Linked DNA regions of Homo sapiens: region 2 is linked to region 1. The links are contacts of gene promoters, found by promoter capture Hi-C in blood cells and fetal thymus (Javierre and others, 2016). All regions are on one chromosome and are shown on one strand. Each heading gives the region's core, a stretch centred on a gene start or on the middle of the fragment in contact. The rest is flanking DNA. Distances are from core to core; before and after follow the strand shown.

Region 1 (3,152 bases), core at 353-2,852:
CCCAGGCTGGAGTGCAGTGGCACGGTATCGGCTCACTGTGAGCTCCGCCTCCCGGGTTCACGCCATTCTCCCTCCTCAGCCTCCCAAGTAGCTGGGACTACAGGCGCCCGCCACCACGCCCAGCTAATTTTTTGTATTTTTAGTAGAGACGGGGTTTCACCATTCACAGGATGGTCTCGATCTCCTGACCTCGTGATCCACCCGCCTTGGCCTCCCAAAGTGCTGGGATTACAGGCATGAGCCACTGCACCTGGCCCATCCATCTTATTTTCTTTTCTTCTCCTCTTCCTCCTTCTTTAGTGAAATCAACTTATATGAAATGAAAATGCAAACTACCAAACCTGCCTTTTCCCATACAAAACAACAAAATTTGATGATTAAATGAACTAAAGTAGTGAATTTCTTCTTGCTCAATTAATTACAAGGCTTTGACTTAAAACAATTTTTTATATTTTCATAATAAATTTCAGAGGAGAGATTTCTTATGTACTTCTAATGTGACTCTACACATATATTTAGAGAAACCTCAAGTTGTCCATTGCAGTTTTTTTCACTCTCAGTAACTGGCCAGGTTGTGGCCTAAGCCTTCGTTAGCCCTGGTTGATATTTAGTCCCGGCTAAATTTGTTTGCTGCTCATCCCTAGGAGTAAGCCACATGTTTGTAGAATGGATGTTTCATCTTGTAGGAAATACCTGTGAATATGCCAATATCCCAGAGTGGATGAAATGGGCAATGGGGAGCCCTGCTCCACTTTACAAAAAGAAAGGAAAAGAAAAGATCCCTTCGCCGATATATATTGATTTGCTGCAGAAAATGCAATGGGGCATGGGAATGAATAGTCACTCTTGCCCTGTTTCTATCCTGTGCAGGTCCCACCACGTTGAGGTGGGTAGAGATGCTTACACACACACACATACAGGCCTGGAGCCAAAGTCAGGGCCGGCTTTAATGAACTGTACACATATGTTGTGGGCAGCCGCTGATTTAATATGTACAACCATGGTGTGTGCACACACCTGGATAGGCACACTGCTCTGGGAATCACACAGGGTCTCCTGAACAATGATGCTATTGTAATATTTCTTTTTGTTTTATTTGTCCAAAGTCAAACATTCACTCTGTCAGATCACCAGTGTCTTATAAGCCTGGTGTTGGCCCACACTGCTGCAGGATTGGGACAAAGAGACGATGTTACAGTCTGGTTTCTATGGCAACAGAGGAGGGGTAATGAAAACTGAAATGTTGGAAACACCCATTCTAACCATTGTGACATAATTCAGGTTATTACAAGGATGTAACTACCAAAGAAGCAGAAGTGTCATTACCTTGCAGCTCATGTCGACAAAAAGCTACACTGCACATTTCTCTTAGGCTGCTAAGAGGAAGGAAACACAAAACACACACACACACACACACACACACACACACACACACACACACACACACACACAGAGGCCTCGTTTTCTGCATGTAAAATGTGTGTGTTCTTTAAAAGCCAGTGGTTGGCTGGTTTTCCGGACATGATGTGGTTGAAGCTGTCATCGTAATGGAAATTCATTGCTGTAGCTATGGTAAATCGAGTTTTCTGCCTGTGCTGAATGCATTAGTCTAATGAGATGTTTGCAGCTGGAGCGCAGGGCTGCTGGAGACTAACTGTGAGCTACTAACACGGGTGGAAGATAGCTTTTGCAATACTCGGTTTGCATGTGCTGAAAGTCATCTGTCTTCTGAGTCAACACTCCCGACCTGGTAAACAACCTGCTCAGGGCTCTGGTGAACAAGCTGTAGGTAAGGGAGATGCACAATTGGAGGCGTGCCGTTGACACGGGATCTTTCTCTTGTAACTGTCAGCATGACAGGTTACCTGTTTCAGTTTTTTCTGGGTTGCATGCCTACCTCTATGGCAACGCACAAGAGTGTCCTGCACTAAAACCACTGAGTCCAGTAGGTAAACTTTAGTTCCTCATATGCAAAGTACAGCATTTAATTTATTAACCAGATCTCAGAGGGGAAAATGTAACATTGAATTATATAGTTTATAAATTTGGGCTATATACATGTTCATTACTCTTTAACTCTGCATTTAAATACCTAGAAAGTTATTTTTTTCCAAATGTGAACTCAAGTAACCGGTTAGTTATTTTTTCCCTTCACGATAATTTTGCTTTGTTTTGCTTTTTAATTTTAAAAAAATTGTACTATGTCTTGGGATAAAAATATTTACCTAAAATTTGGTTATTAAAATTGGTATGTTATGAACATGTAAAAGTGTTTTTTTTCCCATTTAATTTTATTTCAAATATCCCAGGTAGAATATTTCACATGTCTTTGTGCTGGTTTTTCCTAATTTATGAGGCATAAATAAGAATAATATTTACTGCTAGTTTCTGGTTTTAATTCGTTTTTTGGGAAAAAAACTGGTGACTATGGAGTATTAGCGGCAGTTTTCCCAAGCTCAAAATCACCTCCTTCCCAGGTGGAGCACTGTGACTTGAACCAGCTTCCACGTGCTCCTCCCAAAGCATGAGGGGTCCTCTCCAGGTTGATTGCTGGCTGGACAGGAGCGGTGGATGAGGCCAGGGTGCAGGCTGCTGAGCTGTTTTGCTGAGTTGAGGTGCTTGAGTCAAAGTTCTTTCCACTATCTGTGATCGTGAACGAGAGGTGTCTCCTCGTGTTGTCTCTAGATTCCATGACGGTACTCATGAGGGTTAGACAATCAGTGGCTTTCTGAGAAAGTGGTTTTTTACTGATCTCAGACACTACAGTACTTGAGAAAGTAATCCAGGCACTTCAGAATCAGGGTATTTGTTATATGCTGTTTTTCTTTCTTTTCAACCAGAGGAACCATTTTTGAAGAATGAGGGATATAGCTGCTTTTTTTCTCCACTTTTTTTTTTTTAAAGCAAAATAGAATATCTGGAGTGAAAGCATAAAAATAACTACAAAGGAATTCTTAGTGTGTTAAACTATCTGGGGGGTATAATATTTGTGTGGAGCATTTTTTGTGTTGCTTGGTAGAACTAGTCTGATAAAATGAGGGGCTGTTTGAGCAACAGCAGCTGGGTGAAGATTACCTAGAAAATCGGTACTGCGTGATCGTCTAAACTCAAAAGGTTAATGTAGAATCTTCAGTTTTAGGGAAATTGGTGGC
Region 2 (3,152 bases), core at 462-2,961, 680 kb after region 1:
AGCAATATAAAATATCAGCAAAAACGCTGCCCTATTAATGATAGTTTTTATGTTCATGCAGTCAAAATGAATGGCATCTTTTTGTTCTAGCTCAATAAAGTTCTTCAAATAGTTTTCAAAATTTCAAATTCTGGTATGTGATTTCAGCAAAATGACATAGTATGAGCTTTCTCTTTTGAAAGTGGTATAAATATAAACTGCACTTTCCAATTTTATATCTTAGTCCTATGACTTCCTTTGCCTCTCCACATATACACAGAGGGAAATTATTTAATATTTAATCCAAACTGCTCAATTTTCTTTTTCTTTTTCTTTCTTTTTTTTTTTTTTTTGAGACAGAGTCTCGCTCTGTCGCCCAGGCTGGAGTGCAATGGTGCGATCTCCGCTCACTGCAGCCTCCACCTCCTGGGTTCAAGCAATTCTCCTGCCACAGCCTCCCTAGTAGCTGGGACTACAGGCGCATGCCCCAACACCCAGTTAAGTTTTGTAATTTTAGTAGAGACGGGTTTCACTATGTTGGCCAGGATGGTCTTGGTCTGCTGACCTCGTGATCCACCCGCCTCGACCTCCCAAAGTTCAATTTTCTTAAAAGTGACCACCAACACCATCAACATATGTTTATAGACTAGATGTATCACTTGTTTACCCAAATTGTAGCATAAATATCTGTTTTTAGAAAGCTTTTCCATAAGTCTTTCTATATGATTGGATTATTAAGCAAGGCTATGATTAGGAAATAAACCACTTTCCCCTTTAGCTAGTTCTAATGAAAGCTTTCCAAATTAAACACTGTGTTTGAACACTTCTTCCATTCATAGCATGTGCTCATCAAAAAGTGCTTTCCGTTTCTGGTATGTCAACTGTACTATTTATAACCTAGTTAACAAAGCCAACTAAAGGCAGTAAAAGGTGTGTATTTCATATGCAAATTCCTAGCAATAATTTCTACAGTTACATATAGTTGCTTGCTCCGTTATGTTCAACATCAGCGTTATAAAACTGATTACAGGAAGGAGAAAATAATACTAAAATTATATTTTTATATTCCTTAATGGGTTTTTATTAAATACATTAGAAAGATAAATAGTACAAAATGGAAGTAGCCCTGATTTATAATGGACGTTTTTGCAAAGTGACTGATGACCTGTTATAGTAACTGTGCAGAGGAAGAAAATCACTGTGTGACATAGGCTCTTTCTATTTTGTCTCCAAATTTGTGTTTCCTTTTTTTGTTTTTTTGTTTGTTTGTTTGTTTGTTTGTTTGTTTGTTTTTGAGATGGAGTTTTTGCTATTGTTGCCCAGGCTGGAGTGCAATCTCAGCTCACCGCAACCTCCGCCTCCCAGGTTCAAGCGATTCTCCTGCCTCAGCCTCCCAAGTAGCTGGGATTATAGGCATGCGTCACCACGCCCAGCTAATTTTATATTTTTAGTAGAGTCGGGGTTTCGCCGTGTTGGTCAGGCTGCTCTCGAACTCCTGACCTCAGGTGATCCGCCCGCCTTGGTCTCCCAAAGTGCTGGGATTACAGGCGTGAGCCATCGCGCCCGGCTCAAATTTGTGTTTCCTTAACAATCCTCTTTGCTTCTTTATTTTACCAGATTGTGATTCCCCTGACTTAGAAACCATCAACGGAAAAATAAGAGGCCGGGCGCGGTGGCTCACATCTGTAATCCCCGCACTTTGGGAGGCCGAGGCGGGCAGATCATGATGTCAGGAGATCGAGACCATCCTGGCTAACACAGTGAAACCCTGTCTCTACTAAAAATACAAACAAAAGTCAGCTGGGCATGGTGGCACGTGCCTGTAGTCCCAACTACTCCGGAGGCTGTAGGCGGAGGTTGTAGTAAGCCGAGATCACGCCACTGCCCTCCAGCCTGCGTGACAGAGTGAGACTCCATCTAAAAAAAAAAAAGAAAAAGAAGTAAGAAACCAGGATAAGTTAATGCCTTCTTTTCATTGACATTTATTAAGTGTTACTATGTGCATAGCACTGCCTTGGATACAAAGGTAAACCATAGAATGAGATTATTTGTGTCTTTCCCACTATACTGTGGGCTTCTTGGGATCAGATTCTCTTTGAAAATAGTGGAAGATAACCAATGGAATAAACAGATCTGGGTTCAAATCCTAGCTTCTTGGCTGGGCGTGGTGGCTTATGCTTGTAATCCCAGCACTTTGGGAGGTCGAGGCAGGTGGATCGCTTGAGGCCAGGAGTTCGAGGCCAGCCTGGCCAATATGGTGAAACCCCATCTCTACAAAAAATACAAAAATTAGCTGGGCGTGGTGGCGTACGCCTGTAGTTCCACCTACTCAGGAGGCTGAAGCACGAGAATCACTTGAGCCTGGGAGACGGAGGTTGCAGTGAGCAGAGATCCAGCCACTGCACTCTAGTCTGGGCAACAGAGCGAGACTGTCTCAAAAAAAACAAACAAAACAAAACAAAAAAACCTCAAATCCTAGCTTATCTATCAGGTGTGATGAGACAAATTCTCCAGGTTTCTTCTTCCTTTCTTGTGGAATTGGATAGTCGTGCTTACTAGTAAAGAATAGCTGCTAATTGCCTGAAGGCACCAATCACTGTACCTACCACAGAGGGTGCCATTCGATAAATGCTGTTAAAGGAAATGTGTTTTTATAACAATGAAGCTTAGGCTGGGCGCGGTGGATCATGCCTGTAATCCCAGCACTTTGGGAGGCCGAGGCGGGCGGATCACAAGGTCAGGAGATAGAGACCATCCTGGCTAATATGGTGAAACCCCATCTCTACTAAAAAAAATACAAAAAATTAGCCAGGCGTTGTGGCGGGCGCCTGTAGTCCCAGCTACTCGGGAGGCTGAGGCAGAAGAATGGCATGAACCCGGGAGGCAAAGCTTGCAGTGAGCCGAGATCGCGCCACTGCACTCCAGCCTGGGCGACAGAGCGAGACTCCATCTCAAAAAAAAAAAAAAAAAAAACAATGAAGCAAGCAAGTAAAATAGAGTAATAGTAAAGGAACACTGGTTTACAAACTCTAATCAGAAGAATACAGGTTATAAAATAGGTCTAGAGACTTCTTTGAACATAAAGGACAGGACCTGGCACGGTAGCTCACGCCTGTAATCCCAGCACTTTGGGAGGCCGAGGCGGGTGAATCACCTGAGGTCAGGAGTTGGAG

Evidence for each region. The method cuts DNA at HindIII sites, captures the fragments that hold promoters and counts their contacts. A CHiCAGO score of 5 or more calls a contact.
Region 2: a fragment that was not itself captured here is called in contact with the fragment with the promoter of SCML4 in region 1 in 1 of 17 cell types (erythroblasts); the score reaches 5.1 in erythroblasts.

What each region holds. Positions count from the first base shown.
Region 1 is chr6:107,822,763-107,825,914 of GRCh38, reverse strand. It overlaps SCML4 (Scm polycomb group protein like 4), which reads left to right and starts at 1,602. Exons shown (of 8, transcript NM_198081.5): 1 at 1,602-1,789. The HindIII fragment of the contact is 8,468 bases long and covers 1-3,152 here.
Region 2 is chr6:107,138,484-107,141,635 of GRCh38, reverse strand. No RefSeq gene overlaps it. Among named protein-coding and RNA genes, the nearest start is that of BEND3, 25 kb to the right of the region's middle. The HindIII fragment of the contact is 1,871 bases long and covers 776-2,646 here.